4 separate regions of the Homo sapiens genome follow, and regions 1, 2 and 4 are each linked to region 3. Evidence: promoter capture Hi-C in human tissues and cell types (Jung and others, 2019). All regions are on one chromosome and are shown on one strand. Each heading gives the region's core, a stretch centred on a gene start or on the middle of the fragment in contact. The rest is flanking DNA. Distances are from core to core; before and after follow the strand shown.

Evidence for each region. Contacts are between HindIII fragments. The study calls those that stand out against the background at their distance.
Region 1: a contact is called between a fragment that was not itself captured here and the fragment with the promoter of LPP in region 3, in 4 of the 25 tissues and cell types used here (IMR-90 fibroblasts, aorta, heart left ventricle and 1 more).
Region 2: a contact is called between a fragment that was not itself captured here and the fragment with the promoter of LPP in region 3, in 2 of the 25 tissues and cell types used here (hippocampus and liver).
Region 4: a fragment that was not itself captured here is called in contact with the fragment with the promoter of LPP in region 3 in 1 of the 25 tissues and cell types used here (aorta).

The regions. Positions count from the first base shown.
Region 1 is chr3:188,675,070-188,678,060 of GRCh38, reverse strand. All of the region lies in intron 7 of LPP (LIM domain containing preferred translocation partner in lipoma), which reads right to left. Among named protein-coding and RNA genes, the nearest start is that of MIR28, 12 kb to the left of the region's middle. The HindIII fragment of the contact is 8,330 bases long and covers 1-2,991 here.
Region 2 is chr3:188,928,146-188,931,374 of GRCh38, reverse strand. No RefSeq gene overlaps it. Among named protein-coding and RNA genes, the nearest start is that of TPRG1-AS1, 18 kb to the left of the region's middle. The HindIII fragment of the contact is 5,790 bases long and covers 1-3,229 here.
Region 3 is chr3:188,152,593-188,155,950 of GRCh38, reverse strand. It overlaps LPP (LIM domain containing preferred translocation partner in lipoma), which reads right to left and starts at 1,794. Exons shown (of 12, transcript NM_001375462.1): 1 at 1,699-1,794. It overlaps LPP-AS2 (LPP antisense RNA 2), which reads left to right and starts at 1,863. Exons shown (of 1, transcript NR_036497.1): 1 at 1,863-3,358. RefSeq lists enhancers at 1-559, 2,359-3,259 and a silencer at 1,587-1,926. The HindIII fragment of the contact is 14,765 bases long and covers 1-3,358 here.
Region 4 is chr3:188,770,716-188,773,923 of GRCh38, reverse strand. The region is part of intron 9 of LPP (LIM domain containing preferred translocation partner in lipoma); the gene reads right to left. Among named protein-coding and RNA genes, the nearest start is that of MIR28, 84 kb to the right of the region's middle. The HindIII fragment of the contact is 7,685 bases long and covers 1-3,208 here.

The sequences.
Region 1 (2,991 bases), core at 281-2,780, 520 kb before region 3:
GGCTGGGTGAATAAAGAAAAGCTACAGAATGTAGTTGAAGATTTGGCCGTTTCCACATAAGTCAGAAGCAAGACCACCCTGGGACCATGTTTGGGCTATTCCAGGGCTACAGTTTGATTTCAAGTATCAGCGTCCTCTGTCATTTCCAAATTGTCAAGCTACTGTCTTTGAGTAAACAATCCCAGGCAACCACCCAGACCTAGGGTAGGTGGGAGAAACAGCACTGATGTAAACACCTTAAACACATCCATCATTTAGATGACAATGGACAGTCCGGGCTCCTGTTGTACTTCCATAACATTTGTTAGGCTGAATTGTGATTTGGTAAGATAGATCCTAAATTTCAAAACTCCTCTTAATGTAAATTCAAACTTAATTTCACTGGCATGCAAATGACAGAGCAGCTCATGGAACGCTTCCCTCCCCCTCTCCCATTTCCCAGCAGAAGTTCTGTTATATCATCTCTAGGACAGCCACAGGAAGATTTAATAACAGCTTTTAAAGAAGCCCATTTCATGTAATTCAACTTGATTCAACAAGTATTTCTCTATCAGTTTCAATCTTATTCAACTTCCATATACAGTAGAGTAAGAGGGCATCTCTCCTGAAGAGATACCAGAAACTGAGGAGCAGATTTATGAATTTCACAAAGCCACAGATAAATCAAATATTAAATAAAAGACCCTTAATGATTTTGAGGATGGGGATAACAAGTCACATTCACTTAGTAACTATTATGTAGAAAACGAAAGGTGAAGAAAATGTTAGATTCTAAAAGTAACATAATTGTATTAGCTATCTATAAAACAATAAAGACTTGGCAGAGTAAAACAACATACATTTATTATCCCACAGTTTCTGTGGGTCACAAGTGCAGGTATGGTTTAGATGGGTCCTCTGCCTCAGGGTCTCATTGTCTACAAGCAAAGTTAGGCTGGGGTGGCAGTCTCAACTGAGGATTGACTGGGGAAGGATCTGCTTTCAAGTTTGCATGATTGTCGTCAACAGTCGGTTCCTTGCAGGCTGCTAAACTGATGGCTTCAGTTTCTTGTCAGCTACTAGGTGCCCTCACTCTTTACCACATGGACCTCTCCAGGTGGCAGCTGACAACATGGCAGCCTGTTTCTTTAAAGCCTACAAGGGTGAAAGTCCCCTCATAGAACAAATGTTACAGTCTTATATAACACAATCACACACAAGTCATCAAAGACTACATGTGACCTTTGCTGTTTCTATTGGCTAGAAATCATAGGTCCCTCCCACACTCATTGGGAGGCAATTACACAAAGGCATGAATACCACCACGTGGGAATAATTGAGGGCACCTTAGAGTCTGTCTAATGTCATTTTGTTCCCTCTGTATAAGGATCTATAAGGCCACATTGGTCTTTAATGCAGGAGAGGGGCCTTCATTTTCTGAACAAGAAAGACCTTTAGATGTTGATGGAGATTTTACCCTTTACCCTGGCACAATTTGTTTAAAACGTAATGCAGAATTTTACCTTTTTCAAGTACAAAGACATATAACAAAGAACGAAGAAAACTGTTGTTTGTTTTAATCTTTTCAAATATAATTTTTGCACAGGGTTAGAAAATACACGTTTTTTGGAGATGCATTAATCCCATTCTGGAGTTCAAATGTGTTCTCAACTTCAGTGCTAATGACCTGTCTTCTACCTATCTAAATTACCTAAGATGTGGCGACACGGAGTAGACTATTGAAAACACTTAATTGACAGCTTGTACCCGCTGGCTGCCCTTTATTTACATCTATGTAGCTTCACCTGAATACAATGTAGCTGTTTCAGTATTTTAGTGTATCTCCCCACTATGTGCAAGGCAGGATTTTGTCTAGATTATTCCATGAATACACAAATCTAATCTTCAAGAATTCGATTCCACCAGAATACGGTGGTGACTGCTACCTATTTTTTTTAAAAACGTTTTCACTTTTCTAATATTTTTCCCTTAAAAATCTTTTTATCTATTACAGACCAAAGCCAATTCTCATTTAGAGACTAGTAATCTTTCATTTCCAGTATAGTAATCTTTCACCCCTAGGATTCTTTCTCTTAAATCAAAAAGAGGATTCCAATCACCAAAACTTAAAACAGAATTCCAATGTAAGAGAGAGGATTGCAGCAGTCGGGGCAGTACAAGAAAACACTAAAAATTAGGAACTCTGAAGACATGATTCCTGGGTGCTTTCTATAACAAAGTCAGGCTTCAACATTTCTGAGGAAAAAGAACATACCTTTTCTGATACATATTAAAATGGTTAATATATGCCTATGTAATGCAAATGAGCAATCAGAGCTCACTAAGAACTTTAGAATTATTAAATGTTGGAGTTGAAATAGAACTTTTTATTCATCCAGTTCAATCCCTGTAATTCCAGAAGGACATTTGGGGCCTGAACGGTTACATGACTTGTCTAAGGCTATAAAGCCACTCGACAGTAGAAATAGAACTAGAACAATGATATACTGGCTTCTAAGCTTAGCACAGATTACTACCAACACCCCTTGATGTGTTGTCCTTCATATACAAACATACATCATCCAGAAGGCATATACTTGAAGCTATTTCTCTAATTTGCTAGGAGCTATTCACAGTCTTAGCCCCACCATTCTTTATTTACTTCTTTGCTTTGTGTGTATGCGTGGTTTGTTTGTTTGGTCTACTTGTTGAGCAGTTAAGGAAGCCAACTAATGAAAAATGAAGATCCAGGCTAGCTGTCCAGATTTTGCCATACCTCAGGGCTTGCCGCAACCCACTTCATTCTGTCTGTGAGAACTTCCCAGTATACCCTAGCCCACACTGGCTTGACACACTGCTTCATCTCTACAAATGACTCTAATCAGTACCACAAGTCTGAACAGCTGTTATGTAATCGTTCAATTCCTCCATCTTTTCATTTACCTTCCAGCAGGGCTGGTCCTCTTCTTTTGTATTATACTCATAACTAAGGCTAATGCTGTGGGAGAAATT
Region 2 (3,229 bases), core at 263-2,762, 780 kb before region 3:
GTTATCATACGGTGAGTTGTAAAGAGGAGAAGTAATTGGTATTTTTCTCTGGACTGGAACTTTGAATCACAAAGCAGCTAACTCAGCAGCTTTGGGGCAGACCTAGGGGAAAAATTCTGGCCTCCAGCCTCATGTCCCAGTTGTTAAAACCCAGCACATTTCTCTAGAATAGAATGCATCATATAGACGTAATCTTTAAAAGTAACCCAGGGGGACTCTCCAGGCCTTTCCTGCAAAACCCAGAGGACAGTTGTGCTGACTCTGTGAAGCCTGTACTCTCTCCCCAGGATTAACCTTCAGAATTAGAGTCAGAAAATCGGCACTGAAGTCTACTGTTTCTGAGAAAGTTTCCTGGCATTTAGCTAAAGACCAACAACCCTGTGAGGCATGTGCTGTTATCGCCCCATTTTCAAGATGAGGCTTGAGGTTGAGAGAGATGAAGTGGGCTCAAGCCTATACAATGTCAAGGCCCAGATCTCCTCTGTCTGAGCTCCTGGGCCTTATGGTCACTGGGTGTGGGATCAGAAAATCAGTCTGTGGGTGTCAGAAGCAGAGTTCCAAGCTAGGCTGGGATAGAGGTGGGTGGATGTCTTCCCCACCTGCCAAGTACTTACTCTCCAGGAAGGTTCTAGGGGCTTCCAGGAGAAACACCTCTAACCTAGTAACAATAGCACTGCCAGCCTGGAGGGTGAAATTGACGGGCTTGACCTTCTCAGTTCTCTTCCTGGCTTCTGCACTGCAAGGGCTCTTACAGGGAACTGTTACAGCCAGGACAAATCTCCAGGATCTTCCCATGGCAAAGGACCCTCTCTTGGGCGGCACTCCAACGTCAGTCTCACTCAGGCTCTGTCTGCACAGCACGAGCAGCTTCCCAGCCAGCCACAGCCTCATCTGAGGGCAGCGTGGATCCCAGTGGGCATTTGGGAACGCCTGTAATAGGCTCTGATCAGGGTGAGACTCCGGAGAAAGGGCTGTCTTCCTGGAGGTAAAGCAGGTGTTACAAACTCTAAGGCTCTCCGGGCCCCTGCGATCTTTGTGTCAGATTTTGTTTTATCTGCCTGAGCCATTGATGATATAAGTTCCAGTTCAACACTAGGGGATATGGGCTCTAGGGTACCCTTAAGCCAGAAACGTTGCTGAATATCTAGATCTGGAGCCAAGACTAGAATCCCATATGGAGCACACTCCTCCTTTTCCAGGTGTGGGGGTAGATAGGTCCCCCGCCTCACCAGCAGCTCTGCCCCTACTCATCCCAAGACGCGCCACCACTCACAGCTATGTTTCAGGGAAGCCCCGGAGCCCTCAAGATCCCACTGTGGGTTTTGGTTGTCCTCATAGCTCAGCCTCCCACGGCCCCTGACTGTGGTCTGGGGCTTCCTGGACTGGGGTCTAGAGATTTAGGCTTTTTGGCTGCAAAAACCCTAGCCCATAGATCAGGCTGATTCTGGTCCAGGGCTGCAGGAAAGCACCCAGGCCTGGGCCCATCTTCTGGGGGAGGCACTGTGGATGGCGGGGGTGCGGGGAGCTCCAAGAGGGCTGTGAGTGTGGGGGTAGCACGGGGTCGTGGAGGACGAGGACAGACAGAAGCCACGTGCAGGCTCCTTTTGTTCTACCCTCTTCCAGGGAGGAAGCAGGTCAGCTTCCCTGGCCTCTGGCAGTGGGCTGGGGGATCTAATTCTAGCATTTGTTGGGCCTATATGTGCAGACCATGGAAGGGCTTTCTGGGACTGGAAACAGGCTGGATCTTCCCTCTCCACAGGGTGAAGGCTGCAGGGTTGGGGCAGAAAAAGGAACAGCCATGGAATTTCAGGCCTCAGAATTAGACATTCCTTGGAAGGCTCTGGGCACAAACTTGGACTGGAGTTGGTTCAGACAGAATTTGTGAATTTGTGGGTCTTGTAGTATCTAGGGAGAGGGAAAAGATTGGAAATCCCTGTGACATGATTGGGCTTGGTTGAATGGCTACAGTCTCTGCAAATAAGTCCATGAGTGTTTTGCTCAGAGCTCTCCTGGTCAGGCAGAAGAGGGCATTGCTGAGCAGAATCCTGTAAAATTCTGACAGGAAATCCAGGAGCGGGCAGGTGAAAGGAGTAGGTTGTGAGAGTGTGATTTAGAGTGGCTACACTAGCCAGATGGCCGTGGGGGTGGGGAGGCCTAAAACTTTCTATTTTTATTTTTTGAGACAGGGGTCTCACTCTCCCCCAGGCTGGAGTGCAGTGGTGCAATCATAGCTCACTGCAGCCTCCCACCTCAGCCTCCTTAGTAGCTGAGACCACAGGCATGCGCAACCATGCCCAGCTAATTTAAAACATCTTTTTTTGTCTTTCTGTAGACACAGAGTCTCCTATGTTGCCCAGGCTGGTCTCAAACTCCTATGCTCAAGCAATCCACCTGCCTCGGCCTCCCTAAGTGCTGAGATCACAGGTGTGAGCCACCACACCTGGCCTGGCCCAGAGCATTTTTTTTTTCTTTTTTTTGAGACGGGGTCTCATTTTGTCACCCAGGCTGGAGTGCAGTGGCGCGATCTCGGCTCACTGCAAGCTCCACCTCCCGGGTTCACGCCATTCTCCTGCCTCAGCCTCCCAAGTAACTGGGACTACAGGCACCTGCCACCACGCCCAGCTAATTTTTGTATTTTTAATAAAGACAGGGTTTCACCATGTTAGCCAGGATGGTCTCGATCTCCTGACCTCGTGATCTGCCACCTCGGCCTCCCAAAGTGCTGGGATTACAGGCGTGAGCCGCCGTGTCTGGCCACCCAGAACATTTTTAAGTCAGTCAATCCTTTCCACCGCCACGTAGCCTCCCCAAAAGGCTACAGGAAGCCCAAGTCTGTGGACACAGGCACCTTGTCAGGAGAACATAAGTCCAGGCAAAGGGAGAAGGCAGCCAGGAGAGGGTCTGTGTGAGGAAAGGTAGGGCCAGCTGAACATGGTCAGCATGGTTGGAGGCAGGTGAGTAGAGATTCAAGCAGTAATTTGGGGTCAGGGGGCCTAGGAGCAGGTACACATTCTCATACCTGGGCCAGGCTCAGGGCAGGCCAGGCCCTGGTTGGATGGGGAATAGGAGAAGAAAGTTAAGTATACATTAACAAGTAGTAGGGCCCCTTCCAAGAGATTTTATAAAGGCAAGGCTCAGGAAAAGGAGGAATGGAATTGGGCCCAGGTTCCAAGTACAGGGAGAGGAGCCACAGCACCAGGGCCAAGGGGGCAAGTGGCCAGGCTGGCTT
Region 3 (3,358 bases), core at 545-3,044:
CTCTGCCTCCCGGGTTCAAGCGATTCTCCTGCCTCAGCCTCCCGAGTAGCTGGGACTACAGTTCCCCGCCACCACACCCAGCTAATTTTTTGTATTTTTAGTAGAGACAGGGTTTTGCCATGTTGCCCAGGCTGGTTTCTAACTCCTGAGCTCAGGCAATCCGCCCGCCTTGGCCTCCCAAAGTGCTGGGATTACAGGCGTGAGCCACCGTGCCTGGCCCACACACTTTTTCCTTTAACTGCCCCCTGGTGCTGGCAGGAACTGTGCAAGCAGAAAAACTGGTGACGAAGTGGAGAAAACCATATTGGATGTCCTAACCCCCCACTGTCCACCATTATTGACCATAGGCTCTAGGTCTAGCACCCACCTTCGTGGACCTTTACCTATTCTTCTATCTATAAGAGTTGAGGAAGGGGGAGGATGGGAGAGGGAGCTAGATGCTTTGTAAAGGTGCCTAGCCACACTTTCCCCTTCTTCACTTTAGGCTTTCTTAAAATGCACATGTGCAGGGAAAGGTAAGCCATTAAGTCATCAACACCTTAGTGAGAGTGAATTTTACAGGAAAGGCAAGAGATTTAGTAAAAGGGGAAGGAATGGAAAGAGAAAGGGGACTGGAAACACAGTTAAGTGAGTTTGGTACTAGCAAAAGCCCCAGAGAAGACCCTGAGTTCTCGCTAGTTGTTTTGTGTTGGGGGAGGGAAAGCAGTGGATCCCTTCTAAGGGAAGGGAAGCCAGAGAGATTTTTCAGTTCTCCTACGACTCCGAGGTTCCAAAGACTCTGCCCTGTCCAAGCACCCAGGCACAATTCCACTGATTAGCTCATCTCATATCACAACCTCCCCCATCCCCAACCCCTTGCCTCCAACTAAAGAATATTTATACTTTCATCTCCATTTCCCACACTACTTAGTCTTCTCTGGCCCACGGTTCCCTCGAAGAGATGTCTTCCTCCAAGCCGCTAGCTGGCTTCAGGAAACTCCTCAACCTCCAAAAACCCCATTCAGTGCAGGACTCTCCAAAAGGCCGTCCCAGGGACCAGAAAATCAAACCCCCTCCCTGGAACTTCCTTTAACTTTGTCCACGCCTTTGCTCCAGCACTTAGCATTTTCTACCCTAGGCCAGGTTTGACTCCCAGGTTCAACTGAGTTCCTTGAGGGCAACGTCCAATACACCCAGCACAGGGTCTGCCACACACAGGGTGCTAGAGAAATGCTTAGAGAAAGGGAACTTAAGTCCGGAGCCAACTATTTGAATTATGGTCTGGCCTCTAGTAAATAACTTCCGGGCGACCCTCCTTCTCTCTGGGCCTCAGCTGCCCCAACTGTAAAATGGGAGGACTTGGAGGACTGGGTCTAGGCCCTTTCCGCTGTGACAACTGTGATTCCGCGAAAGCTCTAAGCGGATGGGCGTGGCCCCGCCCCCTGGGCGCCCAGAAAAGTCCGGGCAGGGGGCGCGCAAGGCTCCAACCCCGCCTAGCCTGGGGTCGACGCTTTTGGAAAAACTCTGGGTCCCCCTCCCCCATGGCGTGCACCCCGTGATTGGGCCGCGGCCGGCACTTCCGCACAGCGGGCCAGGCCAGAGCAGGGCGCGCGCCCTGCGCTCTTGCCACCCCGGAGGCGCTCGCGCCGGGGGAGGGCTGGGGGTTCCCGAGGCGCCCGCGGGTGGAGGGTGAGGGGAAGGAAGGATTTGCAACAATACCTCAGGGAGGAGGCAGCCGGGGCAGCGGCGGTGGTGGTGGCGGCGGCGGCGGCGGCGGCGGCGGCTGGAGGCGGAGGCAGAGGCAGAGGAGGAGGTGCCCGGGCACTCCCCCTCCCATTGTCCCCAGCCCCGGACAGGCCCGGCCCCGCGCCCCACACTGGCCTCCTCGAGCGCGCCGCCCGCGCCCAGCGCCCCACGCCCCGCGCCCCGGGCCGTGCAGCCAGCCCTTACCTTGCAGCGCCCGGCTGTCTCCCGATCGCTAAAGCTACTTATCCCGGGAAAGCTCGCGCGGGACCCGGGAACGAACCCACAGACAAAAAGTGAAACTTCGGCAGGGCTGGAGCGGCTGCTGGTTGGTGCCTTTCCCCCTCCTTCCTCCCCACCGTCCCCACCCCCTCCCCTTGGTCTCCCGTGCGGTGCCCTGAGCGCTGGAGGCTGACGTCAGGGGCCTGAATTCCTGACTTTGCCTGCACGCATTTGTCCATGTAAGGTATGGGAAGGCGTGTGCCCGCGAAGCCGCCGCGCAGAGCTCGCCTGGCGGGGGAGGGGAAACCCGCAGCCGGCAGTGGCTTTGCCAAAAGGTGGGCGCACTGAGGGCATTGCATTTCCTGGGAGGAAGAGGAGGAGACGCGGGAATGCAGGGAGCTTGCAAAGGAGGAAGAGAAAGAGGGAGATGTGGAGACTTTGCCCCTGCTAGAGGAAGAGGAAGGAGACGTAGGAGGAAGCGGCCGCGTCAGGGGGCTCCTGGAAAATGGAAAAGCCTGCGTCTACTATTAAGGCGTCAAATTAGGGCACTGAGCTTGAGTGGAAGAGATCCAGCCATGAAATCCCCTTCCAAGATTTTCCTCGTGAGCCCCGCCCTGGATTCCCAGCAAGACTCAAAACTTACAAGGTGTCAGAGCTGGCAAAGACCAACTTCCAACCCGTCCGCTTGGCACGTGAGGAAACTGAAGCTCTCGGAAGAGAAATGACTTGTACAGGGTCGTCACTCAGCAGATCGAGGAGCGGGCCCAGGCGCTCTGCCTCCCACTTGGGTTCCCGCCTCCAGGAAGGGCCCTGGCTCCCTTTTAGCCCTGAGCCTTGAAGCAGGTTAGATGCCCGCGAGCTGTGCGGACCACCCAGTGATTTCTACTGCTCTTGGCCCAGAGCCAGTTCCTGGAAGGTCCTGGTTGACAGCGAGCCCTGAATATCAATGACAATCAGTTGCTTCAGGGCAACTTCCTCTGTCCTGTGCTCAAATAAATGAATCCCTGGAGTTTAACGTTTACTTCTGAGCCCCGCCCAGAAAGCTTGCTCTGTGCTTATAGCTTCAAAAAAGTCTGCGAACGAGATGAACTGGTTTGAATACAGACAAGCCTGTCATTGGAAGTTTTGAGTTGGATTTTTCTTTCCCCTCTGACATCTGTAAGGGTGAACGACGATGAGAACCACCACTTAACTGTGTTAGGGGATTATGACGCGCAGCAGCCATGGCCAGGAAAGCATTCCATACCCTGAGACTTCCTTTCCTTGCACTTCTCTCCTATTAATATCTAAAGTAATCCCTCACGTTAGCACATAATGAAAGCAGTCTCTCACCCGGCTATTGCATCTTCAGGTGAGTTAGATAGGACAGAGCGTAGTCCCCCCTTTACACCTCAGACAAAAACTTAAGAAACGT
Region 4 (3,208 bases), core at 375-2,874, 620 kb before region 3:
TGACACATTGGGACAGGTCTCTTCCTCCATGAAGACCTTCTTTTTGGATTCCTCCTTTTGCCCCCAAATCCTCCTATGCCCCCTTCCACTAGTTCTTTCCTGAGGCCCCAACACATTTAGCGCGTTCCATTTTGTGGAGAAACTACGTGTACATGTGTTATGCTAAACAAACAGGATTTATTCAGATTATTTGCTTAAACTAGCATAAAATTATAGACATTCATTTTTAAAGGAATATATTTTAGAAGATTCAATTTTATTTTTACTAACACGTCCCATGAGCTTTATTAATATAAATTGCATCAAATATCTTTTAACATTATTAAAGAGTGTGTAAAGTAAAAATAACTTCTGAGGAAGATGTTTAATATCTTTTCCAAAATGACAGATATAATTAAAAAGTCATCACAGATGTGTGTTTGTGATTTTAAGGTTGCTTAAATAGTCCTCAGTGCAGCCATCCAATTGCAATATCCCAAGCAAGGCATTCCTCGCTCTTGTCTTATTTCCCCATACTATAAATGTAGGAGACTGAATTAAAAAAATTTATATATATATATATTCTTTGAAGACCTACATAATACCAGGCCCTTGTCCTTGTGAAGTATTCAAAAAAAGCACCTGTCTTGCTATAATGATGATGTCAGCCTTGGCTGGCATCCCCTTACTCTGCAGGGACAAGAGCAAAAAAAAGATCCAGGGAGTAGACTTTATTTATTCATTTACTTATTTTAAGTAAGCCCTGGCTGTGGGAAGGAATTACCGTGTCCCATTCAAAGTCATTGGAATATCAGAGAACTTCCACTCAAACTCCTTGGCAATTTTCATGGGTGAGTCAGTGTGTTTGACCTTGAGTGTAGTAGCTCTTATGATCATTCTACGGCTGGAAGCTAGACAGCTGGCTTCACTCTCACATCTTTCCCTTCAATCTTTGATATTTACATTTCAGCAATGACTCTGTTCATAGTCTCTCAGAGCCAAGTTCTCCTCCTTCCTTCTTATACATACATAGTCTCAGGTCCTAGGTGCACGAAGGGGCAAGCAAAGGGTATGTGAGTCAATGACTGTGGGGAGACATAGTGCTAGAGTGACACAGGCTCCCCCCAAATCCCCCTCACTATCAGAGCAGCAATAGGTTCACCTATTATGATAAGCACTACAGAAAAGACAAAGACGAATTAAAGGTGACCTCCCTGCAGTCAGGAGATCGAGATCATCCTGGCTAACACGGTGAAACCCCGTCTCTACTAAAAATACAAAAATTAGCTGGGCTTGGTGGCGGGCACCTGTAGTCCCAGCTACTCGGGAGGCCGAGGCAGGAGAATGGCGCGAACCCAGGAGGCAGAGGTTGCAGTGAGCCAAGATGGCGCCACTGCACTCCAGCCTGGGCTACAGAGTGAGACTCTGTCTCAAAAAAAAGAAAAGAAAAGAAAAGAAAAAAGGGTGACCTCCCCGCACCCCGCACAGTCTTCAAGGGGTTCCTGTCAGTACTGGAGTGTGTCAAGGATGCCAGTGACTTGATAATACCAGTTGTGGTGAGGATCAATCCTATGAGAGATGTGGAAATGAAAACCTTGCATGTTCAGAAATGGTTACATCTAGTTGGTTAAGTTCCAGGAAAGCATTTTAAGGCTGGAGATCGGAAAAGGCAGAAGGTAGGCAACCAATGGCATGGGAATAGACAGAGAAACCTCCATATCAATGTCCAGGAGAAGAGTCCTCACCTTGGGCAAGTGTTGTAAAAAGAATGTGTAGGAGAGCTGATGGGAGATAAGAATGCAAACATATTTTGGGACCAATTTTTGCATGAGCTTGACTGGAAGTACAGACTAGTGGATTTCAAACTTGACTGTGCATAAAAATTTACCTCCCAACTCCCTGCTGTCCCAGGAGCCTTGCAAAAGATGCAAAGTTCCTGTCTCCTTGTGCAGAAATTCTGGGGAGGAGTCCAGAACTTTACTTTTTAATGAGGAGTTCACAGTGATTACAAAGCAGGTGACCGCTGACACATTTTGAGAAAACCGAGCTCCTAGTCTCATGACTTGCCATCTCTCAGACTCCACAAGTTCTCAAACCAAGTGGGTATGCAAGTAATATTCCAGAGCCTGAAATGCTGACTTACAGTTGTCCTTTGGTGATTCAAGTTAGGCAAAATTCTCTCTTGCAGATTTGTTATGTGTCTAACTGGGGCTAAGCCCTGGTACAGTTATTTACGACTCAAAGCCCCCACACTGATTTTTGTTCAGTCCTGTCCTCTCCGAATCCTCATTTCACCCTATAACCATGTGAGCTAAGAAACAGTACTTTCATTCAAGTGCCTCTTTCTTTCTTTCTTTCTCCCTTTCTTTCTTTCTTTCTTTTTTTTTTTTTTTTTGAGATGGAGTCTCACTCTGTCGCCCAGGCTGGAGTGCAGTGGCACAAATCCCAGCTCACTGCAACCTCTGCCTCCTGGGTTCAAGTGATTCTCCTGCCTCAGCCTCCCGAGTAGCTGGGATTACAGGCTTGTGCCACCACATTCAGCTAATTTTTGTATTTTTAGTAGAGATGGAGTTTCACTATGTTAGCCAGTCTGGTCTCGAACTCCTGACCTCAAGTGATCTGTGCACCTCGGCCTCCCAACGTGCTGGGATTACAGGCGTGAGCTACTGTGCCCGGCCTCTTTTTTCTTTTTAAATTTTTTTTGATAAGATCACAAATGAATTCATTCCTTTTATGAATTATTAGTGACTTTTACAATATTATTGGTGAATTCTACAATGTTATAATATATAATGTGAATTGTACAATATTATAGAATTAGTGAATTCTACAATATAATAGAATTAATGAATTCTACAGTATAATAGTGAATTCTAACAATATTATAATAGATAGTACAAATGAATGCAGATCCATCTGGGCAAAAATAAACTACAAAGAAGGGAAAGATGTAACAGTCATTGCCTGCATGGGACAATCCTGGAGCTGAGCACGCTAATGTTTTCAAACTGTTTTACAAAGTCAGATGTGAGAACATATAACAAACTGGTTTGCTCTTATTGTTTGTTTTCATTCTAAGTGTGAGGAAACTGAAGCTAAAAGTAAAGGGAAGAATGCAGAATAGCAGCTGGCTGAGTGTGAACCAGGTCTCACTTTAAATTCTATATTCTTTCCTTAAAATCATTTACTGCCTCATACCAACCCCACTACGTAAAAGACTCTCATATCT